Regions from separate parts of the Homo sapiens genome. Here regions 1, 2, 3, 4, 6 and 7 are each linked to region 5. Evidence: promoter capture Hi-C in 16 types of primary human blood cells and fetal thymus (Javierre and others, 2016). All regions are on one chromosome and are shown on one strand. Each heading gives the region's core, a stretch centred on a gene start or on the middle of the fragment in contact. The rest is flanking DNA. Distances are from core to core; before and after follow the strand shown. Region 1 has its middle 150 kb from the start of AIPL1. Region 2 has its middle 170 kb from the start of AIPL1. Region 3 overlaps LOC339166 (a long non-coding RNA gene). Region 4 has its middle 110 kb from the start of AIPL1. Region 5 holds the start of WSCD1 (WSC domain containing 1). Region 6 overlaps LOC339166 (a long non-coding RNA gene). Region 7 has its middle 130 kb from the start of AIPL1.

What was found. The method cuts DNA at HindIII sites, captures the fragments that hold promoters and counts their contacts. A CHiCAGO score of 5 or more calls a contact.
Region 1: a fragment that was not itself captured here is called in contact with the fragment with the promoter of WSCD1 in region 5 in 1 of 17 cell types (endothelial precursors); the score reaches 7.3 in endothelial precursors.
Region 2: a contact is called between a fragment that was not itself captured here and the fragment with the promoter of WSCD1 in region 5, in 3 of 17 cell types (endothelial precursors, M0 macrophages and M1 macrophages). The highest score is 6.3, in endothelial precursors.
Region 3: a contact is called between a fragment that was not itself captured here and the fragment with the promoter of WSCD1 in region 5, in 1 of 17 cell types (endothelial precursors). The highest score is 5.3, in endothelial precursors.
Region 4: a fragment that was not itself captured here is called in contact with the fragment with the promoter of WSCD1 in region 5 in 6 of 17 cell types (endothelial precursors, M0 macrophages, M2 macrophages and 3 more); the score reaches 9.3 in endothelial precursors.
Region 6: a fragment that was not itself captured here is called in contact with the fragment with the promoter of WSCD1 in region 5 in 1 of 17 cell types (endothelial precursors); the score reaches 5.7 in endothelial precursors.
Region 7: a fragment that was not itself captured here is called in contact with the fragment with the promoter of WSCD1 in region 5 in 1 of 17 cell types (M1 macrophages); the score reaches 5.3 in M1 macrophages.

The regions. Positions count from the first base shown.
Region 1 is chr17:6,280,287-6,284,531 of GRCh38, reverse strand. No RefSeq gene overlaps it. Among named protein-coding and RNA genes, the nearest start is that of AIPL1, 150 kb to the left of the region's middle. The HindIII fragment of the contact is 2,510 bases long and covers 417-2,926 here.
Region 2 is chr17:6,258,208-6,262,245 of GRCh38, reverse strand. No RefSeq gene overlaps it. Among named protein-coding and RNA genes, the nearest start is that of AIPL1, 170 kb to the left of the region's middle. RefSeq lists a silencer at 2,023-2,317. The HindIII fragment of the contact is 2,591 bases long and covers 422-3,012 here.
Region 3 is chr17:5,858,837-5,862,580 of GRCh38, reverse strand. The region is part of intron 2 of LOC339166 (a long non-coding RNA gene); the gene reads right to left. Among named protein-coding and RNA genes, the nearest start is that of WSCD1, 210 kb to the left of the region's middle. The HindIII fragment of the contact is 2,878 bases long and covers 1-2,742 here.
Region 4 is chr17:6,319,647-6,323,297 of GRCh38, reverse strand. It overlaps the pseudogene BTF3P14. Among named protein-coding and RNA genes, the nearest start is that of AIPL1, 110 kb to the left of the region's middle. The HindIII fragment of the contact is 869 bases long and covers 1,444-2,312 here.
Region 5 is chr17:6,068,542-6,072,785 of GRCh38, reverse strand. WSCD1 (WSC domain containing 1) reads right to left here and starts at 2,407. Exons shown (of 9, transcript NM_015253.2): 1 at 2,134-2,407. RefSeq lists an enhancer at 2,340-3,171. The HindIII fragment of the contact is 6,207 bases long and covers 490-4,244 here.
Region 6 is chr17:5,878,190-5,881,841 of GRCh38, reverse strand. The region is part of intron 2 of LOC339166 (a long non-coding RNA gene); the gene reads right to left. Among named protein-coding and RNA genes, the nearest start is that of WSCD1, 190 kb to the left of the region's middle. The HindIII fragment of the contact is 4,098 bases long and covers 50-3,652 here.
Region 7 is chr17:6,302,407-6,306,413 of GRCh38, reverse strand. No RefSeq gene overlaps it. Among named protein-coding and RNA genes, the nearest start is that of AIPL1, 130 kb to the left of the region's middle. The HindIII fragment of the contact is 3,528 bases long and covers 841-4,007 here.

The sequences.
Region 1 (4,245 bases), core at 422-2,921, 210 kb before region 5:
TCCCAGGCCCCAAACCTAATGGCTGTAACTGAGGCCCTGCAGGCACAGCTCTAGTGGCCAGGATGATGCTCGAGTGTCCTGCTGCAATGATGCTGCAAGATACTAATAACTGAGGTTGGAAGTTTGCAGGACCAGGGCCTACACCCTGCATGAGGCTGACAGAGCAGGAGTATTGCCATCTTGGACAAGCACTGTCATTTTAAGTCCACCTTGATCAAAAACTGCCTAAATCCAAAAGATATCAGCCTAATGGCTAAGGTCAGCAGGACCATAAACCACAAATCACATCTCCAACCAGAAACATTTCAAACCCCTCCCCAACCAGAGACATGCCAGCCCTGAGATAACTCCCCTCTGACCAGAGACATTCCAACCCCGCCATAAAACTTCTCCCTAACACAGAAATATTCCAAGCTTGTGATAAGCCCCCTCACCCTAAAACCAATATATACTCTTAGTCTGTAAGAGACAATGCTCCTGACCGAAATTGGCCAGAAGCCCCTCTCAGATTTATTTCTCTAAAATAAACCTGTCTTTGACTGTTGAGGCACACTTCGAGTTTCTTTCCTCTTTCTTTAACTCTTACAAAGGCTCTCTCTTCTCCTAGGCTGGGGCCAGCAGCTGTTCCTTTGCTTGTTCAGGAAGTAGCTCCAAGGCCACATAACTTCTCTCTGAGTGAGTAGGTAGATTCAGGGCACAAGGTCAGCACTTTAGGGGAGCTGCTAGCAGAAGGGATCCTGGGAGTAGGGGGCAGGGGCAGGGCAAAGAGCCCTTGGACAAGAGTCTGAAAACTTTGGTTTGGGTCCTTTCGGTTGCTTGCTCATGGTATGACCTTGGGAAAGTCACTTCTCTTTTTGGAGCCTCAGTTTTCTCATCTGCAAATTGGGAATGAACATGCTGCTCTGCCAGTCCTCACAGTGGGGCTATTGTGAGGACTGTTGAGATAATGGGACTGGTGAGGCACTACTTTTCCTCTGTACTTTCTTAGCTGAGGGACTTGAGCTGGTCGATACAGCTCTCAGCTTCTTAGTTCCTTTATCTGTGAAATGGGCACAATAAAATGTTGTGGTTTTTTTTTTTTTTTTTTTTGCTGGTTTGTCATGAGGTTTTTTTTGTTTTGTTTTGTTTTGTTTGTTTGTTTGTTTTGAGATGGAGTCTCGCTCTGTCACCCAGGCTGGAGTGCAGTTGTGCCATCTTGGCTCACTGCAAGCTCCGCCTCCCAGATTCATGCCATTCTCCTGCCTCAGCCTCCGGAGTAGCTGGGACTACAGGCACGCACCACCGTGCTTGGCTAATTTTTTTGTATTTTTATTAGAGACGGGGTTTCAACATGTTAGCCAGGATGGTCTCCATCTCCTGACCTTGTGATACACCTGCCTTGGCCTCCCAAAGTGCTGGGATTACAGGCGTGAGCCACTGCACCCGGCCTGTCATGAGGTTTAAAGGATCCTTTAGCTTCAAATGACAAAAACCATCTCTAATGAGTTTGAGCAACAAGGAAAATTGTTGTAATCAGCAGGGGTTTTTGGCACCTTCCAGACCACCCCACCCTTGATGTGACTTGGCTCCAAAACTCTCTGTTCAACATTTAAAGCTCACCTGGGGTCAAATGTTCCTGTCTGGACCAATGGGCTCTAGCCAGGAAGACAGAGTCAGGCCAAAGACACATGGCTTCTGTGAATCTACCCGCATGGCAGGGTAGACAGCCGTGTGCTGCTCATCTCCCAGAGCTCTGTGGACCAGTGCCTGGTGGCCTGCAGAGAATGGTGGTGGCCACTATCACCACGGTGACTGTTATGATAAAGAAAGGAGAGCCCAAAGTTATTCCCATCCTGAGGCTGCCCTCCAGAGGAGTTGTAGGGGCCTTTGGTGACAGTTCCAGGTATCTGTTTCTCCTCCATTGTCCAGGCCCTTGTCCTGCAGTCTCACAGCCAGGTCCTAAGGGCAGCTTGTGGTTTACTCAAGGTTCTCAGGGACATAGGACACTGACAGTCCACCTCTATGCTTATTTGCAGCACATGGGAGAGGCTGGAGAGGGGCACACCTCACAGGCGCAGTATATATCAGTCTGTAAGGCACTGTATCAGATCTTCATTCATTTTGATTTTGTTCCTCAGGCATTTTTAACTTTCACTAGTGATTAAAACTTTGAACCTTCCCAATGCCACAAAACCATTACAAGACAAGGCCAAGACTTTAACACACACCTTTTGATTCCTGATTCCCAGGCCAGGGTTCGGAGGTAGAAGTTGCTTGTCTGGTCAGAGAGAGAAGGCTCACATATGCAACAGCTGCAAAACTCCAAAGGATTGCTGCTCATTTATCCCCATACTTTCTCTGCTGCCTGTCCCTCCCTGCATCTATTCAGCCTTCCATTTACCCATCTATCTATCTATCCATCCATCCATCCATCCATCCAGTCATCCATCCATTCATCACAAAATTAGACCATCTGACCCTGTGCTGAGAAATCAGGAGAGAAAGATGAATCAGTGTGGTCTCTGCTATCAAGGAGATGCACAGGTGAACAGACAAATCAGAGCACAGGATAGAGTCACAAGCTGATAGAGGGTGGCACTGAGGCAGAGGAAGAACATGGAAGCCTGGAAGGATTGATGGAAGAGGTAACACTTTGTGCTGGAGGCATCGAAGAGCCACTAAAGTGTTTTAAGAACGGAAGCTGATATGGTCAACTTTGTGTTTTATGGTGGGAGAAGGAACAGGACGAATTGGGGTAGGATATGGTGAACTCTACTATTGTGCTTAACCATTCACTCCCTCTTCCTGTAAGCAGGCTATATTTCCTTACCCATTCCTCTATGACTTGCAATGTTTCCATAGGTATTTGATGCCAGGCTGATCTTGTGATCTGTTTTGGCCAATTAAATGAGAGTAGAGTGACATACACCAATTCTGACCAGAAGCTTTAAAAGGCTGTGTTAGTTATCTACTGCTGCATAATGAATTACCCTTAAACATAGTGGCCCAACACAATAAATATTTATTATCTCACACAGTTTCTCTGGGAAAGGAGTCTAGGAGGAGCATTGCCGGTTGGTTCTGGCTCAGTCACCCTTGAGGTTTCAGCCAAGATATCAGTTGGGCCACAGTCATCCGAAGACTTGACTGGGGCTGGAGGATCTGCTTCCAAGGTGGCTCCCTCACATAGCCAGTAGTGCTGGCTGTTGGCAGGAGGCCTCCGTCCCTCACCACAACGTCTCCTCCATAAAGATGCCGAGTGTCCTAGTGACATGGCAGCTGGCCTGCCCCAGAGCAGTGCTCCAAGATCCAAGAATGAGCCACAGTGCTTTTATGACCTATTTTCAGAGACTACACACCAGCAGTTCTGCTATGGGCTGGTAATTATAAGTGGGTCACTAACTCCAACTTATACTCAAGGGGAGGAGAATTAAACTCCACCTCTCGAAGCAAGGAGTATAAAAACATTTGTAAAAAAGATTTTAAAACCACCACAGAGGCATTGCATTTTTGTGCTGCTCTCTCGCCTTTTCTTGCTAGGAAAATGGCATGTCTCAGACAGAGACTGTTGCTCCAGCCTGAATCCTGGATCCCGCCAGTGCAGGAGAGTTGCAACTAGATCTTGCTGTTGCAAGATTCTGAAACTGAGAGGTTGTTTGTTACTGCAGCATAACCAAGTGAAAACTGCCTGCTACAAGGTAGTAGGTCTGAAGTCAGGGAGACTGGCTGAGAAGATGGGATTTGGCCTAAGGCAGGGGAAGGGGACTTGGAAGGTGGAGTGGAGAGGGCTTTGGTGACTGATGTACCACGGGGAGAGGAAGTTGCCAAGAGAACTCCAGGAATACTTGCCTGATTGTATGGGGCTTACTCTGAAGGAAGCAGGATATTTTTTAAAAAAGACTAGAGAGCCCCCCTGGAGCAACTAGAAGAGGCTTCATGGAGGGGGAATCTGGTGGGAGGGGTTCTTCAAGGCTGGACTGGGTTGGGTGATCTACTGCCAGATAGTCTGCTGCAGCCTGGACAAGCTGAGCTCTGGCTTGGCTGGGGATGATGTTCCCAGGATTCATTCAGTCATTGACTCAAAAACTAACATTTATTGAGTACCTACTATGTGTTAGGAACATTTCTAAACTTTGGAAATATTAAGATAATCAGAGAAAAAGCTATAGCTGTCAAGAAGTTTAAAGTCTGGTAGGCTGAGTGTGGGTGGCTCACGCCTGTAATGCCTGCACTTTGGGAGGCTGAAGCGGGCGGATCACGACGTCA
Region 2 (4,038 bases), core at 468-2,967, 190 kb before region 5:
AATTCTTATGCAGGCTAAAGCACACAACTTGGTGGCCAGTAGGCGGTGGGAGATAGCACAGGCTGGGGCTGGAGACTGGGCAGGGGCCAGATCTTGGAGGGTCTTGTGGGCCTTAGTAAGGAGGCTCTTATTTTATTTATTTTCTTTTTTTTATTATGATACTTTACGTTCTAGGGTACATGTGCACAACGTGCAGGTTTGTTACATATGTATACATGTGCCATGTTGGTGTGCTGCACCCACTAACTTGTCATTTACATTAGAAATATCTCCTAATGCTATCCCTCCCCCCTCCCCCCTCCCCCCACCCCACAACAGGCCCCGGTGTGTGATGTTCCCCACCCTGTGTCCAAGTGTTCTCATTGTTCAATTCCCACCTTTATTTTATTTATTGTTTAAAGAGAACTGACAAAAACAAGCTTATCTGGGGGAAGAAATGCCACTGTGAACAATATGAATTAGCTTCAAGTCTCTCCTCCCAAAAACAGGAGTCGTCTGTTACCAAGCGAATCACCACCCCTCCCCTCCACTGTCCTTCCCTTCAGCGTCTAGCATGCCTAAGCCTCTCCATTCTAACACCACGGAAGCACTTTCTGATCAGTCTGCTGCTTGCAGCTCTGACTCTCTCTCCCTGTCTTTCCTTTCCCAGCCATGTCTCTTGCAAGCGTTTCTAGATTCTTCATTGTCCTGTCCTAAAATCCTATTCACACCTCGACCCCCATGCAGTGTGGCTTCCACTCAGTTTTGTTTTTATTTTATGTGCCTTGAGAATAAGGGCTTTAAGAAGATGAACATGACTTATGTTTTGAAAAGATCCTTCTGGCTACTTTGCAGGGAATGGATTTGAAAAGCCAAGAGAGGAAGCAGGTTGCTCAGTAAGAGGCTGCTGCATCACCAGCTGAGAGAGGATGTTGGTATGGACAGAGTGGCAACATGGGACCTGGAGAAAAGAAGGCAGACTGGGGATATATTTGGAAGGGCTGGCAGGGCCTTCTGGGGTCGATGGAGGGATAAAGGAAGGAGAGCAGTCACGGATGACATGGGGGGGGTCTTGGCCTGAAGAGTTGGGTGGACGGCAGTGGCAGGAGAGGACTCAAAGAGGAACAAATTTGGGGAAGCAGGTTTCTGGGAACCCTGTTTGGGTCATACTTTGAGACCCTTATCTACATGATGATATCAAGTAGGCAGGTTAGATATATCGAATTGGGGTTTAGAGAAGGGGTCAGGGCTGAAGATCCAAATCCACACGTTGAATTCAAAGTCATCAGCAACTGCCTCCTGGAGGAGCCTCTACAAGTGTTAGCTTTGAAAAATGACTTCACTGTGACGTGGTAAGGGAGGCTGGGAACAAGGTCACGGGAGTCATGGACACACCGGCTTCATGGCGTCCATCAGGGAGGGGTTGTCAGCCAGCTGCAAGTCACCACCCCCTCCTCTCCATGGTTCTTCCCTTCAGCATTTAGCATGCCTAAGTCTCTCCATTCTAATGCCACGGAAGAACTTTCTGATCAGTCTGCCTTCTGCAGGCAGCTGGAGGTGGACAGCTGCAGGTCACCACTTCCCAACACTGACCTGACACTGACTTGCAGAATGGAAGAAGAGCCGACATCCTCGCATGTATTTGTTTCCAGGACAGCCGCTCAAAGGTGGGACCACTGCCAGGCCTATCAGTTCAACCCCTAAATTGAAGAAGGAAGTTTTCTCCAGCTTGATGGTAAGTTCAAGACCTGACTCGGAGCCCCAGGCAGTTCCCGTCACTCTCTAATTCAGAGATTCTGCCATACTATGCCATTAGTGGCCACCTCCATAAGCACAGGGCACTTCAGAGTTTACATATCATGCTGACATCCATGACCCCATCTAATCTTCACACCAGCTCTTGGAGGGTTGGAGAGATTTTTTTTAAGACTTATTTTACAGATGAGGAAACTAAGGCTCAGAGGTTAAGCCATTTGTCCAAGATCACACATTCGGAACATAGTCGAGTCAGGACTTCAAACCAGGACTGTCTGCTTCTAAAATCTTAACAAACCCTCTGCCTCTATTACAGTTCATGGCCTACTACCTTGGTCGCTGCTAAGATGTGAGAGCTCCTTGCTGGCAACGCTTCCTCAAGAAGCCAGCCAGGTGCTACTTTCTCCCCAGCCTTGGGTCTTCCCCTTGCTGAGAGATCGCATTCTTTTGTAACTACCTGGCTCACCTGCGGCTTCATTGTCTCCTGTTTTTTTTTTTTGAGATGGAGTCTTGCTATGTCACCCAGGCTGGAGTGCAGCGGCGTGATCTCGGCTCACTGCAACCTCCGCCTCCCGGGTTCAAGCAATTCTCCTGCCTCAGCCTCCTGAGTAGCTGGGATTACAGGCACCTGCCACCACGCCCAGATAATTTTTGTATTTTTAGTAGAGACGGCGTTTTGCCATCTTGGCCAAGCTAGTCTCGAACTCCTGACCTCATGATCCACCTGCCTCGGCCTCCCAAAGTGCTGGGAATATAGGTGTGAGCCACCGTGCCTGGTCCCTGGTCTGTCTTTAACCACTCTCTGCTAGTAAGAGCCGGATCCCTCATTCCACAACTTTGGCTAGTTACTCACAATTCCTTCAGTCTCACCTCCCCAGGGCTTCCTGAGCACTCCAATATGTCCACCTGACCTCTTTCAGGGAGGTCTCCCTGATTTCTCTGGCCTCCTGCCCTTCTCCAGGGGTCTTCAGACTGCAGTAGCTCTGATCTCCTCTCCCTCATCTGTCGTGTGCCTATGGCACATGTTACTCTACCAAGCCATACAACATGGGATTATTCACACATGGTCCCATCCATAGCAACTCTTCTGACCACAGTTACCTCCATCTCAGTGTCTTCAAGGTCCAATTCAACATCCCTCCTTAATCCAGGGGAATAGATTCATCTTTCTCTGATTCAGCAGAAGCAAATCAATCAAATATGGACTATAAGTTGCAGACACTCATGGGACCTCAAAGGTCCCCTACTTCTACCTTCTATCTTATGCTATATTAAGCTTGCCCAACCTGAGGCCTGCAGTCCAGATGGCTTTGAATGTGACCCAACACACATTTGTTAAGTCTCTTAAAACATCATGAGATTTTTTTTTTTTTGAGACAGAGTCTCACACTGTTGCCCAGGCTGGAGTGCAGTGCTGTGATCTCAGCTCACTGCAACCTCCGCCTCCCGGGTTCAAGCGATTCTCCTGCCTCAGCCTCCCAAGTAGCTGGGATTACAGGCGCCCGCCACCATGCCCAGCTAATTTTTTGTATTTTTACAAAATACAGAGATGCCGTTTCATCATGTTGGCCAGGCTGGTCTCAAACTCCTGACCTCGTGATCCGCCCACCTTGGCCTCCCAAAGTGCTGAGATTACAGGCATGAGCCACTGCATCAGGCCCATTATGAGATTTTTTTTGTGATTTCTTTTTTGTGTGATTTTTTTTAGCTCATCAGCTATCGTCAGTGTTAATATACGACATGTGCAGCCCAAAATGATTCTTCTTACAGTGTGACCCAGGGAAGCCAAAAGACCAGACATCCCTCTGTTACACTTTCCACTCCAACATTCTCCCAAAGTCAAGCCTCTCCTGACACCTGGAGACTCGCTAACTCTTAAGGGAAAGTCATGCCTTCTCTGGACAGCTCTCTTACAAACTTTTTCCTTTCCCCCCACCTCAAAATGTGCCTACCAGCAACAGCCTCCTCTCCCTGCAGGCCACCCAGGATGGGGCCAGTCCTGCTCCAGGGTGGCATTCAGAGGTGGAAAGGCATGGTCCTGACCCCGAGCCTGCTCTTCTTCAGACAAAACAACTTTTCCACCCTGTATTTCAGCCCCCATCTGCTCCTCTATCCTGGCCCCTTTCCCAAAAGATGCCCCGGTTTCTTTCGTCCTAGCAACTCTTCTTACCTTCCACACCTCGATGCAAATTCAGACAAAATGCAGCAAGTATTTACTGAGCACTATCTCTTTGCCAGGCACTGGCCTTGGAGCTGAGGATGCAGCAGTAAATTTAACAGACAGAAGTCAAGGTGAAGCTCCCA
Region 3 (3,744 bases), core at 54-2,553, 210 kb after region 5:
ACCACCTGGCATCATTGAAAGATTTCCATTTGACTAGAAGAAGCAGTAGCTTCCAGGCACCCTTGCTGGTGATTTTGCACAGTTATGCATTTTCTCTCAATTCTTTGATTTAAAAGAATCTTGTACTTCCCAGCTGGCAATGTTCTTGGGACCTGTAGTTTATAACAAAGGTCATCTTTTGACCAAACACATTTGGCATTTATAATGACTGGGCTGTGACCTGACTTTAGCTGCTGCTGGTGAAATTTCAGCCTGTATGTAACCTGCAGGCAGACGGCTCTGACCTGGAGATCCACAGACCACTGAGGAGTCATGCTGCCGACGGTACAAAATTGCTCCAAACAGGCCACTGCTGCTCGGCCTGCAGGAGGTTATGTCTGTACATAAGGGTGCAGAATGCCATTCCAACATGGGGAAAGTCTCTTTCAAGGGGGTGTGTTATCCAGAACCTATTTGCATGAAGATGTTCAGGAAATATAGGAGCACGCTGCATCCCCTGGCACCTGGTGACTGGTGAGTCACAGCTGACACAGGGGGAGCCAATCCATTGGCTTGGCTGGGCTATCCAGAGTCTTCCTCCTACAAGTTTTAAATTAATATACACTGTAATCGGTCTCTGAAGAATTATGAATTGGGAGGTCATGGAAAGCCAGGGCCCAGGTAACCACATCTGAGCCATCCGTAAGCAGAATAGAAAAGATCAGGCTGAAGATAGAAGAATGAAAAGTTCCAGCACTTTGGGAGGCCGAGGCAGGCAGATCACGAGATCAGGAGACTGAGACCAGCCTGGCCAGCATGGTGAAACCCAAAAATTAATACATGGTGAAATACAAAATTTAGCTGGGCATGGTGGCGTGTGCCTGTTATCCCAGGTACTCGGGAGGCTGAGGCAGCAGAATAGCTTGAACCAGGGAGTCAGATGTTGCGGTGAGCCAAGATTGCGCCACTGCATTCTAGCCTGGCAACAGAGCGAGATTCCGTCTCAAAAAAAAATTAAGAAAAAAAAAAGAATGAAAAGGTGCTCACATACAGAAAAAAAAAAATAGAAATAAGAGGCCATCAGGCAATGAGGCAGATGGCAGCCTTGTATCCTGATGGCTTTCCTGCTGAGTACCAGGCCTTAAAGGTCCACTGCCGTTCAGCCCTTGGGTTCTGTGACACATCCAGCCAATCAAGCCCTGTCTTTTGCTTAAGCTATGCCAAGGAACTTTTTACTGTTCATTGAATTTAACAAGTACATTATGCAATAATCACATTGCTGAGTTTCTATCATGGACCTCTCTCCCTTTGGAAGATAAGCCCTTTGCAAATGAATTAGGTCATACCATTGGAAGGGAGGTCAACAGTGTTCTCAAGATTTCAACAAGACCTTGAGATACTGGAAGAAGAGGAAGGTCCAGAGGGACAAGGGATTGGCTACCAAAGATATGATCCTCAGAAATGCTGGGCTGGCCCTCAACCCAGTGCTATGACAGTGATTGGGGTCAGCAAAAACAAAGGGCAACTTCTGTGTTGTAGGCTGGGGTGTTTTGTGGGGTGGGGAGGTGAGGAGACATGTAGGACAGACTCCTACTGCTTTGGTGATGAATTCAAAAATGTATTAGGAGAGCTTAATCAACACAGTCATTCTTACAGTTAATAGGTCTAAAAAATCCAGATTAAAAGGACAAAGAAGGAATTTAGACTCCTCAGATGGAAATGCATGGATGTTATATTTCTCTCTCCTTGGCTCACTCCTTCCCCAGCTGCCTAAGCATAACCCATGTCCATCTCCACCATAGGGTTATAAGACCCTCACCTCCCAGTGATGACTTCAGGCCCCGACTCAACGCATCAAGGTCTTTCCAACCAGCCTCAGCCTCAGCCTTGTTAATATCATGCAGGGGTGGCCAGGCACTGTGGCTCATGCCTGTAATCCCAGCACTTTGGGAGGCCGAGGCAGACAGATTGCCTGAGATCAGGAGTTCGAGACCAGTCTGGCCAACGTGGTGAAACCCCATCTCTACTAAAAATACAAAAAAATTAGCCGGACATAGTGGCATGCACCTGTAATCCCAGCTACTCGGAAGGCTGAGGCAGGGGAATTGCTTGAACCAGGGAGGTAGAAGTTGCAGTGAGCCAAGATCACGCCACTGCACTCCAGCCTGGGAGACAGAGCGAGACTCTGTCCCGAAAAAAAAAAAAAATCATGTGGGGGTAATAATAATAATAATAGGAAAAATGGAAACCTGTAGGAAAATATAATTACTCTATACTCTAGGCCAATGACTTACCATGCATCTTTTATTCAATCCTCATAGCAATTGTGGAAAGTAGAGGCAATTGTTATCCCTCATTTACAGCTAAAGAAAAAGAGGCTCAAAGGAGAGGCTCAAAAGAGGCTCAAAAGAGGCACGAGAATCGCTTAAACCCGGGAGACAGAGGTTGTAGTGAACTGAGATCATGCCATTGCACTCCAGCCTGGGCAACAGAGTGAGACTCCATCTCAAATTATATATATACTGTACAGCCGTCATTTTCCATGGCCACTATTAGGATCTAAAGGGGTTGAAGCAAGTCAGAAATAAACCAAATGCATAATTGAAACCTACAAGGTCTACAGGCCACAGGGAGAGTCCTCTGAAGGGGCCTTGACTTTAGGTTTGCACGCCCTGTGATTGTCCCTGGGGAGGCCAGAACTGGGCTGTTCCCACCAGCAGTACCAAGCCCGCAGAGCAGAAATGCACACTGGGAATGGAAGCTTCCAGCCTGTCCCAAGATGACAAAAGAGCCCCCACACTTCCGCACTTGTCATGCCAATCAACGCAGAATGGCCAGGAGGAGGGGAACATTGCCCTGAGTGCTATCAGCACTTCTGGTTTTGCCTTACTGATGAGTGTGTTGGGGAAATCCAGCCAAAGCCCCACTGCTTGCTCTTCTTTCCAGTTTTGCAGCCCTGGCCCCACTGCCCTTCCGCCTCCCACTTGGTTGCAGCTTAACCCCTTTTCCAGTCACTGAGTTGCTCAAATATCCTCCACTGAAAACCCAGGCTTCAGTAGCAGCATTGGCACCTCCTGGGGCAGCCTCTTCTCTCCCAGATCTTGGGACACTCCATCGCCCTCAACTCTGATTCCCCTAATAAGGATGCCAAGATCCAAGAACACTCGGAAAGAATGCGTCTCTCATGGTCACGGGATGCAAGACTCCAGTTCACTGGCCAGGAGGAGGTCCAGGAACCCCAGGGCAGCTCTGCCATTGGCTCTAATGATGGTGCTGGGGACTCATCAGGACAAAAGGTCTCTTCCAAGCCCTAGGTTTGCTCAAATCCCCTGTGTCCGAGTGGTCTTTTCTACCACTTAGTATTTTCAAAAACATTATCACCAGATAAAAAAATAAACAAAAAAATATTAGGGGAAAATCTTTCCCAAGCAGTGAAATAAGACCAATGAAACATAAAAAAATTGTCAGGGGAAATAAGCCTGCCACTCCTGCAGATAAATCTCACCCAAACTGTTCAAGTTGGACAACTTCCATAAGCCTGTGTGTCCTTCCCAATATCGCTTGGTTCTGAGTCTCAGATCATAAAGGTCAATAAAAGCCTCAATTGGAAATCTCACCCCTCCCAGAATAATGATTCTCAGGTTCACAGACAGCCCCATGGCTGGACAGCAGTGTTGGGCCCAAAACATCTCAGCAAAAGGTTAGACTTTGCAAGCCCGATGGTCTTTGCATCTCTAGCACTTAGCACATAGTAGATGCTTTATA
Region 4 (3,651 bases), core at 629-3,128, 250 kb before region 5:
TTGCCTAACTCTGCTTGAACACTGAGTGCCAACCTGCCCCCTGCATGGCCCCTTTTCTGCTCTGACAAGATGAAAGAGACAATCATGAACTAGGAAAAACCCGCCAAACTTCAGGCACAACCGTGCATTGGTGGGAAAGAAATTGGTTGTAGAAAGAAGAAGGTGGTTCACAGAACAGCTACAGCAGATGATTAAAAAAACTTCAGCTCTTAAACAAGTTAGGGGCCGGCACAGCGGCTCACACCTGCAATCCCAGCACTTTGGGAGGCAGAGGTGGGTGGATCACCTGAGGTCAGGAGTTCCGGACCAGCTTGGCTAACATGATGAAACCCCGTCTCTACTAAAAAAAAAAATACAAAAAATTAGCCAGGCATGGTGGCAGGCACCTGTAATCTCAGCTACCCGGGAGGCTGAAGCAGGAGAATTTCTTGAACCTGGGAGGCAGAGGGTAGGGCTGCAGTGAGCCAAGATCGCACCATTGCACTCCATCCTGGGTGACAGAGCAAGACTCCATCTCAAAAAAAAAGAAGAAGAAGAAGTTAGGGGCAAACAATATCTGGTATTGAAGAGGTGAATACATTTACAAGTTAAAGTAGATCAAGGAACAGTGATCCGCTTTAACAATCCTAAAGTTCAGGCATCTTTGGCAGCAAACACTTCTTTCACCATTGCAGGCCATGCTGAGACACAGCAGCTGATGGAAACGCTACCCAGCATCTTAAGCCGGTGAGATGCAGACAGTCTGGCTAGTTTGGGAAGATGGGCTGAAGCTCTGCCCAAACAGTCTGTGGATGAAAAAGCACCATTTGCTACTGGAGAGGATGATGATGAAGTTCCAGCTCTTGCAGAGAATTTTGATGAGGCTTCCAAGAATGAGGCAAACCGAATTAAGCCAACTTCTGAAGAAGATAAAACCTGCAGAAATTACTGGGAGCTGCTATATTACATTAGGACTGCTTTTTTTTTTTTTTTTTTTTGACAGAATCTCACTCTTGTCGCCCAGGCTGGAGTGCAATGGTGCGATCTTAGCTCACTGCAACCTCCACCTCCTGGGTTCAAGCAATTATCTTGCCTCAGCCTCCCAAGTAGCTGACATTACAGGTGCCCACCACCACGCCCAGCTAATTTTTTTGTGTTTTTAATAGAGATGGGGTTTTACCATGTTGGCCAGGCTGGTCTCGAACTCCTGACTGCAGGGGATCCACCCATCTCAGCCTCCCAAGGTGCTGGGATTACAGGAGTGAGCCACTGCGCCTGGCCTTGACTGCTTTATAAAGTTGATATATGGATCTGGTAAAATCTAGATCTCTAATATTTTTAAGCCCAAGCCCCTTGGACACTGCAGCTTTTTGCTTACATACAATTCATTTTTGCTTATATACAATTCATTACTTGTAGGTAATTAAGCTGAAGAAGCCTGGAAATAAGGTTTGAAACAAAGCTTAATGAGGTTATTTGACTACTTGAAAGAAAAAAAAAAGAATTGTAGAGTTTCTAGAGTGAGTGGGCTTAAGGCAGGAGAGGGAGGAGGAGGCTCTTGGTGGGAGTGAGGAATGAGTCCCAGAAGATGGGAGAATCTGGGACTTCTGGAGAAAGTTTTCAAATTTCCTTCTCTGATTTTGCTTTCACCGAACCCAGAACCCAGGAGCCAGCAAGAGTTAGTGGGCAGTGCTCACAGAATTCACATACCCTTTTCTCTCGAGACCACATGCAAGGGTACTCTGGGTTTGGCACTTGCCAGGAAACTGGAAATCTTCCTCTTGAGCTTCATCATTCTTGGCAGGTTTTGAGTTCTAAATGAGCCAAATCTATCTAGCCCCTTTAGTGAAAAAAATGAGCTTTAACCGTGAGGGAAGTTGCCTTGGTGGTCCAACCACCAGACTTTCCCAGTGGAAGAACACGCCAGACTCTGTCAGTGGACAACCCTCCTGGGAAGTGGACCCGTTCTTCAGGCCATAACTCAGGGGGTCTCAAGTCCCTGCAGCAGCACACAAGACTCCTTATGGATCCCGAAGTTCCACAATGGCAGTTGTCTTTGCTCCCCCACCATTACTCCATCATTTCGTTAACTTTTTCTGAATTCTCAAGGCCAGAATTACATGGTTCAAATTGTCCCTTTCATCATATTTCCATCTTCCTGGTCTAATTCTGCTGAATGCTTTCTAGGCATACTGTATGGCTGCCATCCAAGGGCTTTGCTTTAGTGAATCCACTCTCTCTTGCGTCCTTTCCTAGTTTTTTGATTTACTTCCTTGTCTATCCAGAGCATACCCTCAAGTCACTTTTTAAAAAGGTACATGGGAAGTAAAGCTTCTGAGTCTTTGCTGTCCGAAAATGCCTTTATATTATCTTGGCATTCAATATAGACTATAGAATTTTAGAGTAAAAATTATTTTCCATCAGCACCTTGGTGGCATTTTCCCATTACCTTCTGGTGTTCAATGAGGCTGACAAAAAGTTTCTGATGCCAGGTTGACTTTGTTCTTTTGGGGGTGAACTTTTCTCTCTTTTTGTAAGTTTTATCTTCAGAACAGAGGTCAGCAAATTTTCTTCTGTAAAGGGCCAGATAGCAAATAGTTTAGACTTTGCAGGCATGTGGTTTCTGTTCTAACTGCTCAGCTCTGCTGTTGTAACATGAAAGCAGCCATAGGCAATACATAAACAAACAGACATAACCATTTCCAATAAAACTTTATTGACAAAAACAAGTGGTGGGCCAGATTTGGTTCATGAATTTAGTTTGCCAACCTCTCTGCTTTAGAAGGTCAAAGGGCATTCTTTTTATGCTTGACATTTTAAATTTTTCCAATGAACTGTCTATATATTATTCTTTATTCATTGACTATGCTTGAACACTTAGTGAAACTTCCAACACTGATATTCATGTCCTTTAGCTTTGATAAGTTTCTTAGTTTCTTACTTTTCTAAATGTATATATATACACTTTAATATATATAAAGTATATATTAAAGTGTATATATATATATATATATATATATATACACTTTAATATATATATATTTTAGGTATCCAATACCTGTTGAACCTCCCAGATTTATTCAGTATATCTTTTTTCTTCTCTCTCTCATTGTTTTCATCTCTTTTTGTTGTTGTTTTTATGTTTTTCTGAACTATTGCTTTTGACTTTTTAAAACAATCCTTTTACACATGTAAAAAATTTTGGCCATATATTTTTTAATTTTAACCGTTCCTTTTTGTCTTCTAATTGTTTCTGTTTTATAGAATCATTTTATTGTATAATGGATGCAACATCTTCTGGATTCTTCCTGAAGATACCAGAGGTTTTTTGTTTTTTTCTAATTGTCTTATATTTCCTGAATTGTCTCTAATCCCTTAGGGGTCAGTATTTTCCTTTATTATTGTTGAGTTATTCTCTTTTCTACTGCAAGTTGTTTTCCTTTAAAAATATCTGGTGTCCTGGTTGACAATTTGCATTTAAATTAAGGAATATAGAGTTGCTTCGGTAGCCTATGAGTATGAGGAGACCTTGTTAAATTGTGGAATTTGCTCTAAAATGTTGGTAAAGGAGCTGGCTTTAGAGATGGAAGACCCCTAAATACCAGAATATGGAGGTCTGTTTTCCTGGAGTGTGGTTGTTTTAAAACATGTCCACAGATTCTGGGGGATGCT
Region 5 (4,244 bases), core at 1,158-3,657:
GATGAGGAGAGATTAAAGGAAGAATGTGAAGGCCAGACCAGGAGGCCCAGGGAGAAGGTGGTGAGCGGAAAGCCACATTCATTCCCTCATTCCCCAGATGAGCAGCCCTGGATGTTAGGGCCCAGCTCTGGCCCTGCTAGTGTATATGATTATCACCTGCATTTTAAGGCCTAAGGCCCTGAAGGTCTAAACACTGAGCTGCCCCAAAGTCCTTGGCCTTGACCTCATTGTACCTCCAGAGAAAGAGTCAGGGAGCTGGTCTCACCAAGGCTGATGGGGGTCTGAGCTGGATGGGAGTACAAGCTTGGAGCTTCTATAATGAGAAACACCACTTCCCTAGAGGCCCTGCTCGGAGGGGTTCCATCAGGGCCTGGAGGCTCTGGATTCAGAGGCTCTGAGTCGCCTGCTCAGGCTGATGCCATAAGGAACCAGCTCTGTGACTCATTCCCCAGTGCTCTGGCCAAACTGATCAGGTTGGAGGCTCAAGCTTCAGCAGCAGACCCACTAGTGGCACTGAATATCCACTTCTGCTCGGTTAGGAAGACAGGAGGAAGAGACAGGAGTCTGGCCTTCTGCCTTATCCCAGCTTCTCTTCACTTCCAACCAGACATGCCACAGGCCACAGGGCAGTACCCCATAGGGCACAATGCCCACTGAAGAGAGGGATCCCCTCACCCCAGAAGAAGGCATTTTTACAGAGGAGCTGTGGAAATGGCCCTGCTGAGGCCTGGAGGATGCAGCCACAGGTGAGAGCCTTCTGGCGGAGAAGATGAGGCAGTCAGGCTCAGCCACCAGCCCAACCACCGCCAAGCCTCCTTCAGATCCCATGCCTGGGAGAGCTCCTGCTCTTCCTCCTAGAAACCCTGAGCTCTGGCAGCCGGTTGAGGCCCCTTCCCGGAGGATCTCCTGAGGGCCAATCTAAGTGTGTGGGGGTGGGGGCATGATTGAGAGAGACAAACCTCATTCTCCCATAGCCCAAGGAAACCTCCCCTAGCTCTCTCCCCAGCACCTGCAGCCACCAGGAGTGGGTGATTGCAAACAGCGCAGGGCAAGCCAGCTTTATATCTCCTGTAACTTTCACTCCCCACCACCCTCACTTTCTGTGCCTGACAACCTAGGCAAATCAGAGGAAAAAAGAAAGGCCCCCACTCCTGATGCCAAAGTGGGATAAACCAAGTGCCTCCATAAACCTAAGCATGCTGTTCCAGCAACAAGAGGGATGCGGGTATCTCATGTTAGAAAAGTACAGCGGAGTCCTGCATCTGTCCATCTTGGGAGCTGCAGGGGCAGGGCCAGTGTGGGGAGCAGCTGGATCCCAGTGCAGGGCTATGAGGCTAGAACTCCTATATGAGCCTTCCCACTGCTCAGCGGAAGGAAGAGCGGTCCCCTTCCCCACCCGCATTCCCGATCAGCAGAGCAGGCATCATCCCAGGCGCACAAATGCTCAGGAAAACCACCAGCGAGGTTACCCGGAGGCAGGGGACCCAGCCAGGTACGTACGCTCCTGAGTAGCCAAGAAAAACGCAATTTAGCAACCTTCAGTCGTGAGTCTCCGTCCACACCTACGAAGACGCAAAGCTCTACACTAGGTAATTTTCTGGACAAAATACATACGTTTTGCTTTTGCCTCTGCCTCTGTTCAAGTTCACCAAGAGACGGAGCAAACCCTCCGCTGACCGGAAGCCTCTCTTGGTAGCGGAACGAGAGGGAGCTGCTTCTGGGTAAACGTCGCCGCCTAGGAGGGAAGCTGTGCGCACCCCACACCCTGCCCTCGCCCCCTCCCCGGGACCAACCGCAGCGCCCTCCCGGGTGACGGACGGGCTCTCAGGACTCCGGAGGGGGACGCGGCTCGTGCGGCGCCTCGCGCACCCCCACCCCATCCCGGCCGCGCCGAGCGCCGCCCCCGCCCCCCCACAACCCCTGCACGCACCCGCTCACTCTCCCCTGCCCCGGCCGAGCCGCCCCGGGCCCCCGGGAAGGTGCCCCCGGCAAGCCCGCCCTGCAGCCGGAGCAGGTGCAGCCCCGCCGCGCTCCCAACCGCGTCTGCACAAACTTGTTTGCCCGCGGCAAGGGGAACACCCTGCTCGCAGCCCGCGCGGGGGTCCGGCTGGAGCGCCGAGAGACAGGACTCACCCCGCGATCGCGGCCGGCTGGGGCGCCCGCACCCGCGCCCATGGCCCGCCTTCCCCGGGCGCCGAGCCCGCAGCCCCCCGCAGTGCCCGGAGCCCAGAAGCCCCGGCGCCCGCACGTCTCCGGCCGCCCGCGGCAAGCGGACCCACGCGCCCGGGCACAGGGCGCCGCCGCCTGGCTCCCCGGGGCTGCTGGCGTCCGGGCTGAACGGCGGGGCGGGCGGGCGGGCGCGGAGCCGGGGCGGGCAGCGGGCGGGCGAGCGGGCGCCGGGCTCTGCACATGCTCACTCGCGCGGCCCGGGGACAGCGGCCGGCCGCCGCCGGGTCCTAGAGGCGCCGGTGCGCACCTCCCGCCGCCCGGGGGAGGGGTCGCGGCTCCGCCGGAGGGGGCCCACGCCCTGCCCCGGCCCGCGAGAACACGCGCGCGGGGCGGGCCACACGCGCCACTGCCGAGCAGAGACGCCGCCACCCACTCTGATACACACACACACACACACACACACCAGTCACCCAGAGCCACAGCCTTTCACCGGGGCCCCACGGGCTCTAACACACGCACCATGACGCTCACACCCAGACACAGACCCACAAACACACGGGGCACTGCCGCGCAGAGGAGAGCACGCCGCCACTCTCCCATGCAGACTCACAGCGACAGCCGCACACTGCCTGACACACACATCCCGAATCACTGCTTCCCAGAGACACCGACACCCACACTCACACACACACTCTCTGGGCTCTGCCCCACTCACCCAGAAGCAGACTGGGCCACTGTGACAGGCACGCACACGTACACACACAGCCACACAGTTTAGAGTGCACTCTAATACACACACACACCACACACGCACGCACACACACACACACACACACACACACCGGATCACCGTCCCATGCAGAGCTAGAGACAGACGGTCACAGCTTCACACACATTCACACTCAGAAACAAGCACCTGCTGGAACACAGACACTCTCACACAATCTGAGACAGACCTACACAGAATTGCAGCCCTACAAATACCCTGACACCAGCTCCCGCGTCTACACACTCGGGGGTCGGCCGCCGGCTTATCATACTGCTCCACACCGCACACAGTGACAAACCCACGCCTTGACATAGTTGCCCACAGAAGCAATGTCACACACTGGTGTCTACTAACAGACACACTCTCAGAGGGGCATACTGGGCATTGACCCACAGGCTCTCTCTCTCTCTCTCTCTCTCACACACACACACACACACACACACACACACACACACACGCACCGAGGTGGAAAGAGGCTGAACAGTCACACAAGTCTATACACAATCCCCCTCTTTAAATAAAGGCTGGATCCAAACCTAAAGATTTTTCCCAGGGAGGAGCCCCACCCTGTTCCCCCAAAGCCGCCAAGTCACAGCATCTGCCCTGCTCTGCCATGTGCACCGGTGGACCCTGTCCTCACCCGGAGCTGGCTGCTAAGATGCTCCCAGAAGCTGAGGACAGCAGAGGCAGCAGGAGCAGGTGGTGGTGCCTCTTACTCCGTCTTCCTAAAAGGGAGTTTCATGCCTCCGACTCCCGCTAGGGGCAGAGCTGCTTGGCCTGGCTCCGAGGAGCTGGCTTGCAACAGGTGCAGGTGGCAGGGAAAGCGTTTGCCTGGGGACCAGTCACAGTCCCTCCTTACGCGGGTCAGTCAGGTGGCGCCCAGAGCGGGAAGAGACTCGCTGCAGTTTGCATAGCTATGTCTGGCCAAGTGCAGAATTAGAACAGAGTCTGCACCATCCGCATGAAGGCAGAATGCTCTGAAGGTCTTGGGGCACCTGGATTTAATATCCTTAAGCCCAGGAAGAGGATACAGTAAGTGAGAGACGAATTCTGTGCTGCCTCAGAGTCCCAACCTTGCAGAAAAGCCCCCTTCACATATATATCCTTTACAGAATGTGAATGTGTGTGTCGTTACGATTTATAACAGCAACCCACTGTGCAGTCTCGCAATGCTGTTTGGTTTGCAAAGCCCTCTCCATGACCAGCTACATAATTTGAAGGGCCTAAAATAAAAATGGAGCCCCCTTTTAAAACACTATCAAGAATTTCGAGAGATAAAAGGAGGATATTAAACCAGTACGGGTCC
Region 6 (3,652 bases), core at 849-3,348, 190 kb after region 5:
TATAATAGCATAAAAGTAGAAACAATCTCAGTGCTGAACAGTATAAGCTTAAACAAATTATCATAAATGCATTGATAGATTGAAGAGTAAAAGTAAACACTATGAGGGAACACGGAAAACAATTTTGACACGACATTTACTGCAGAAAGGGGTAAAAAGTATTCAAATTTACAGTTCAAAACTGTAAAAAACATATGGAGAAAAAGACAGAAAAGAATGTACCAAAATATGCATAGTAAGTGGGTTAAAAATGGAAATTTTGACAACTTTTTCCCCGAGTAACTAATTTTTCTATAATTATATTAGCTTTATGATTGATTTTTATATATATAAGAAGGGACACTTTTAGCTTTATAACTTCTTTATAAGAACCAAACCAGGCCGGGCACGGTGGCTCACGCCTGTAATCCCAGCACTTTGGGAGGTCGAGGCAGGCAGATCACTTGAGGTCGGGAGTTCGAGACCAGCCTGACCAACATGGAGAAACCCTGTCTCTACTAAAAATACAAAATTAGCCGGGCATAGTGGTGCATGCCTGTAATCCCAGCTACTTGGGAGGCTGAGGCAGGAGAATTGCTTGAACCCGGGAGGCGAAGGTTGTGGTGAGCTGAGATCACACCATTGCACTCCAACCTGGGCAACAAGAGCGAGATTCCATCTCAAAAAAAAAAAAAAAAAAAAAAGAAGAAGAACTAAATCAGAATGATAAAGACTCATGACTACATGCCATAAATGATTCAGGATCTGGGAGTACTAATTCTGGAGAGGAGCAGACTAAGGGGGTCTTGATTACCATTCTTCAGCACTTGACTGTCATTTGCAGGAAAAATTAGCCTTACTCCGTGTACTACCAGGGAGCAGAAAGAAGACGGATAGGGAAATGTCTCTCTCTTTGTTCAGCATAAGGAAAGACTACAAGAGTAATACTTTCCAATACCTAATAGCCTGGGCTGCCTGGAAGGTGGGGAGCGCCCCTTCACTGGAGGTATTCAAGCCGAGGTCAGAGCTGCAGTTCTCTGATAACAAGGAGGTTGGAAGAAGGCGGAAGAAACCCAAAAGGAAGCAGAAATAGCATGAAAGGGATGATTGGGAACGGGTCAGAAGCCCTCATGGGGCCGAGGCCTTTCCTGCAGTTTTCTATAGCTGGGGCCACTCCTCATCCCTGATGGGTTTCATAAAGGAGACTATATATGGGGAAATTCCCCAAGCTGTAGTGAATGTCATAGAACACAGGAGCCAGAAGACTCTAGAGATCATGTAGGCTGCATCCCCATCACCTCTGAAGACACGGAGATTCAGACAGGCCCAGTATGTGCTGGGGATGCACAGCAGGTCTGTTTAGAGCTGTTTAGAGCGGGGCAAAGGTGTGCTGCCTCCCAGGCCACTCTGCCCTTTGCTAAAGAGCCTGCCAGGGTGGCCAGACTCCCACTCCGGCCCTGCACCACAGTACATGTCTGTTTACCTCCAGAAACAAGAAGAAACTCACAAAGGTTGTGATCCCACCTGGGAAACAAGAACAGAAGCATCAGGGGTCAGAATATAAAGATGAAAGCGATTCCAGTCTGACTTTCTCACTTGGTTCCCTGTATCACACACACACATGCGCGCACGTGCGTGCATGCACACACACACACACACACACACACACACACACACACACACACACACTTGCTTTTCTGGGAAGAAATTAATGACCCCTGGGCCGTTCATTGCTCTTTTACTTGGTGACAAAAACCACTAGTGATCATTCTGGTTTCATACAAAATTAATATTTGATTGAAGGTGATATTTGTTTGGAAATAATGAAATGTCTGTCCAAGCCCAGGCACCACACTGCCCGAAGTGAGAGCGGAATACACCCCATTTCATATTTCATTCAAAGGAAATGCCATCCTGTAATGAAAACAATCGTGTCTATGTCACTGGGCCGGAGTGAGGAAGCCGCAGTGAGGAAGGTGCAGTATTTCCCCAGGAAACACGGGGAAAAGCCGATCAATAAAATCCATCAGACTCACTGCGTTCTGTAAAGCACTTTCTGTATTCATTTATCCCGGACTTGGGAGTAATTATGTCAGGATCTTTTTCCCAAGGACTCTAGGAAAGCAAAGCAACTTTCCACCCAATTCTCTTTCATGAAAGGCTTTGCTTTCTTCGAATGCGTGTTTGCTGTTTATTTCAGCCTCCCAGGCAGCCAAGGGACCGTTCAGGACAAGTTTCTCATCAGCAACAGGTGTCTTATTACTACAGTGGCTCATCGTTAGTGGAACCCCCAGCTTCTGGCTGCAGGAAGTACAGGAAAAATTTGCAAAGGAGGTTACTCTAGCCTTTCTGAAAGTCATGGCCGAGAGCTGATTTCCTATCTCTATTGAGGAGTGGAGGAAGGTGGCCCATTCCTAACGCACTGAAGGGTGAGAGTGGCCTCAGCAGAGACACCTGTTCTTTAAAAAAATGTTTTGAGGCCAGACTCGGTGGCTCACACCTGTAATCCCAACATTTTGGGAGACCGAGGCAGGTGGATCACGAGGTCAGGAGTTCAAGACCAGCCTGACCATCATGGTGAAACCCTGTCTCTACTAAAAATACAAAATTAGCCAGGCATGGTGGCATGCTCCTGTAATCCCAGCTACTCAGGAGGCTGAGGCAGGAGAATCGCTTGAACCTGGGAGGCAGAGGTTGCAGGGAGCCGAGATCGTGCTGTTGCCCTCCAGCCTGGGTGACAGAGCGAGACCCCATCTCAAAAAAAAAATGTTTTGAGATAATTGTAGATCCACATATAGTTGTAAGAAATAATACAGAGAGATGCCTGCACACTTTGTCCAGTTCCGCTCATTATAACATTTCGCAAAACTAAACAATAATATCACAATTAGCGTATCGACATTGGTGTAGTCCCCCTAACTTATTCAGATTTCCCTAGTTTTGCTTCTCATTTTGTCTGCATGGATTGAGTTCTGTACAATGTTATCGCCTGTGTAGCTTCATGTATATAACACCACCATCAAGATACTGAGTCATGTCTTTCCTCTCATGACCCTTTTAAAACCATCATTTATTTCCCTGTCCCACGCTCCAGCCGGATGCTGAGCTCCTGGGCCGTCGGAACCATCCTATCTGCAGGTGGCACGTGGCACAAAGCCTGAATCACAGCGAGGGCCCAGTTGTTTGAGTGTCCCCTGTCTGAAATGCTTGGGGCCAGAAGTGGAATATTTGCGTTACACTTATCTTCCTTATCTGGAAGTCCGAACTCCAAAACACTCCAATGAGCAATTCTTCTAGCGTGGGGGCCTCAAAAAGTTTCAGATTTTGAAGCATTTCTGATTTCGTATTTTCAGATTAGGGATACTCAACCTGGGCTTGCTTGTTGAGTAATTAACCTCAGCTTGCTGGTCCATGCAACGGGCACATGACTTACCTCTACTGATGCCCACGCCTGGTTCCAGTGCTGGTTTGGTAACTCTGGGGGAATCCCTGAACCTCTCTGTGCATTTCTGGTCCCTCCAACCCCCCGTCTGCTCAGTTGGTGGCAGAGGCCATGCAGACGTCTTGCCCTGACAGCCGGTGGTGCTGCAGGAGGAATAAGCAATCTGAGTCTCGGAGAATTCAGGCCATGTCAGCAGCTGGAACCCAGTCTAGGACCATGGCCAGGCTTGGT
Region 7 (4,007 bases), core at 1,355-3,854, 230 kb before region 5:
TTTCACATCTCACATCCCTTGTCTCTAGCTCAGAAGCTGAGAAATGGGTGCCTTGGGTCCCAGCAATTCACACTTTGGAGCAAATGGTGACTGCAGTTCACATGTCTAAATGGGGGTGGCCTGTGTGTGTGTGAGGGGGCAGAGCAGTCTGTCCTGTCTGATGTCCCAGGCTTTTTCTCCATGTAAATCATCCCCTAGCCCTAGGTGGCTTGAAACAGCAGGTATGAACAGATGGCAGTGGCTTCTCAGCATCCTGTGTTCCTGGGGTGAGTCCAGCCACAGAGAGAGAGGGGATTCACAGTAGCCACCAGGTGAACAGTGCCATCAAAACTCTGAACTGTGTCTCAGCAATGGCCTGGGGGCCCAGCCGAGAGGAGATGTTCACCAGGAAACTTGCCCAGCGTGGAACTCAGTGGCCTCCACCTCAGTAATCGAAAGCACATTCTAAATACATCTCTCAGTGACTCCTGCCTCGTGGTTGTTTGGTGCATGATTGGACAGATGGAGAGGTGGGCTCCCCAGTGGGTCTGGAGCGTGGGCTTCAGAGAGTGCTAATGTTTCTCAGATCTCCTCTGCAAAGTGCCAACTGTGGAAACACTGAAGCTCAGGCCAGGAAATGGAAACACACTGCCAGGTGGCAGGATGGGCTGCTTCTTAATTAAGGAGCCTCCCCAGCTCGCGGGTGACGGGTGTGGTTTGTAAATAGTTTATGCACCTGTTACATCCACGTGTTGCGGGACTGCTCCTGGGCTTTGTCCAAGTGGGGTCCAGGCCTCCTTCGCCAGAACAATAGTAGAAATAATATGTGGTCTTTATGGAACATTTATAGTCTACCAAGCTTTGTGCAGTGTGAGCCCCTTTACCTGCATTATCTCATCGAATCCTCCTAGCAACCCTAGAGGTAGATGTGTTATTAAGCTCATTTTATATGTGGGAAGCTGACAGCAAAAGGTTAAGCAAACAGCTCAAGCTCACAGAGCTGGTGGGAGAGTGAGTCAGAACTCAAACTTGTAATTAGACAAACCTGAATTTGGAGCCTCAGTTCATCATGTGTGAAACAGGGTAATTCTATCTACCTCACAGGATACTGTAGGGATGAAAGAAAAGTATGTGGACAAAAATCTACCAGCTTGGAATGTGTCATTGAGTGACAATTTGGTAAATGTTTGAATGCCTATTGTGAAGGCTAATTTTATGTGTCAACTTCACTAGGACATGGTGCCCATATATTTGATCAAATACTATTGCATGTGTTCCTGAAAAGGTATTAACACTTAAATCAGTAGACATGGAGTAAAGCAGATCGACTACCCTCCATAATGTGGGTGGGCCTTATCCAATCAGGTGAAGACCTTAATAGAAAAAGAGCGACCTTTTTCTGTTAAGAATAGAAAGCACTATGCTGGAATAAGAGTGAATTCTTCCAGCACAATAGTACCATAGTGCCTTTGGACCAGAACTGCAGCTCTTCCAGCACAGTAGTGCCTTTGGACCAGAACTCCAGGCTCTCTGTGTACCCTGAAGATTTGCAGCTTATCAAGTATCTACAATCATGTGAGCCAACTCCTCAAAAATATTTTCTCTCTCTCTCTCTCTCTCTCTATATATATATATATACACACACACACACATACATATGTGTATGTATGTATCTCTCTCTGTCTCTCTCTCTTTCTATATTATATATATATACACACACACACACACACACACACACACACACACACACACACACATTCTATTGATTCTGTTTCTCTGGAGAATCCTGACTGAAACACCTATGAATACAACTATGAATAAGAGAATGTTTTAATAATATATGGTTTACCTGTATGGTATAATATGCAATTGTTAAAAAGAACAACTTATGCCTATGTATTTTTAGAGGAGAAGAAAACCAGAACACGTGTGTGTGTGTGTGTGTGTGTGTGAGTCTCTATGTTTCCCTGTGAGCATAGAGAAATATGTGAAAGGATACATGCCTGAGGGATGATGGTGGTGGTTGTGGAAGTCTTATTGGGGTAGGGAAGGATATTCACTTTTTCTTTCTACACTCGATTGTTTGATTTTAGCATATGTTATTTGTGTCGCTAAAAGGATAATAAAGTAGATAAGTGTGAACATTTTGTTGATTTAAAATTGTCCTCTTCTGTGACTGGAGGCGGTGGGGACAGCATAGCACAAGTCTGTCTGTATCTATTTGTTTTGTGCTGATCTATATTGAGAATATACCCTATCTGGAGGGAGTTGACTGGTGGTGCCTTGAGGCTGCTTTGATTAATACCGCCTCACCTACACAGTACCCTGGCCTATGTAAGTATCTGAGTCCAGCTGTGATTTTAAAGGAATCTCCTTCCACAATTCCTGACCTTGGTTTTCGGGGGTCTGGACAAGTTTGATGGCCCATCGGGTGCAGTTAGGGCAGCCAAGCGTTGCTCTTCCATTGCTGAAAGGTATTAATGCTTAAACCCTCCACCCTCATCTCTGGGATATGTCAACAAACAGCACCAAGCAGGGACTAGGTGCTGGGTGCTGTCCCGGGTGCTGAAAAGTCAAAGAGGGCCAGATTTCCACTCACTATCAACTTTGACTGAAGGTTTACTAGGCAGAGTCATTCTGGAAGCCCAGACAAGTGGGAGCATCTGATCAGAGTGGCCTGGCTTTTGGAATGTGGCCAATTGGACATTATCAGGGAAATGTCAAGCGACTTGAACTTCTTGCCTTCCATCCTTTTGTAGGGTCAGCTGCTCACAATTGGAATTGACTGTTGGCTTGACTGACTTAGTTGAATCAATGTGTGCTTTGTTCCTTCTGCCAACACCAATCTCCCACCTCCATATCCATAGAAGAGCAGGGTCTTTCTCACCTAAGATTATAGAGGATGCCAAAAGGAAGTGAGAGCCCCCCAACACCTTCTCAAGCCAGCCACCTTGAAGCAATTCATTCCAACAAACGTTCACCTGAAAAACAATTTGCAATTGCCAATTGCAGGCAAGACTCTGCCCTGGGACCAAGTGTGATGAAGGTCAGATATTTCTGGCAAATAGAGGATTCTAAAGTACATAAAAATGAAGAAGGGCCTCTCCATGAAGTGCACATCAAGACCACCTGGGAGGATGGAAAAATGCAGGTACTTGCACTCTTTTTAAAATCCCAGGGGAAAAGCACTGTGATAGTGCTGTGGGATGAGTGTTTGTTCTATTAGTCATTCCCTATGTCTGAAATGTTGGATGCAAAACAAGGAGGGATGAGAGAAGAGACTGAAGACACTAGCCATGTCACAGTGGGGCTGGCAATCTGCAGACCCAGCTGCAGTGGTTGCCAAGGTGTCTCCTTTCACATTCCACATCTTGTCTGTATCTTGGTGAAGAGCTGATGAGAGGGTGACAATAACCAGCTCGTGTAATTATCACCCCTGTCTTAGTGAAGATGGGCTGTGTTTGGATAATAGCAGGAGTCCTGAGCGGCAGCTAGAAGCCACAGGTGGTTGAGATGCAGATCAAGTTCTGAGCCATCACTGGCTTTAGGGATGATGCATGCTGGAACCAGTACTTGTCCATCCTTGAGTGTGGAGAGAGAGGAGGCTGTCAGTCAAATCTGCAGCTGGGGTCTGCAGCATGCAGGGAAAGAGCAATGCCTGGGCATCAGGAGACCAGGGCATTTAGCCTTAGCTCTGACAGTAACTTGCCATGAATTGGGCGAAATGACTCCTCCCCACTTCCCCATCTCTGAGCTCTTTTTAAACTTGAGTAGGTGATTCCAAATGAGCTTTTATGTTCCCTCCTTATTTTGACAGTTTGTGATCCTCTAAACTTCTGATATCAAGATATAGCCAAACAGAAACAAACCAAATCATTATATCTAAGGAACATTAGTTATATAAATTTTTAAATTACAAAAGTAATATCTGCTCATTATAAATATTCAACTGACACAGAATAAAAAGCAAAATCCCTTATCTCCCCATACTATTTCCCAAAAGCAACAACTGCTAATAGTTTGGGGAC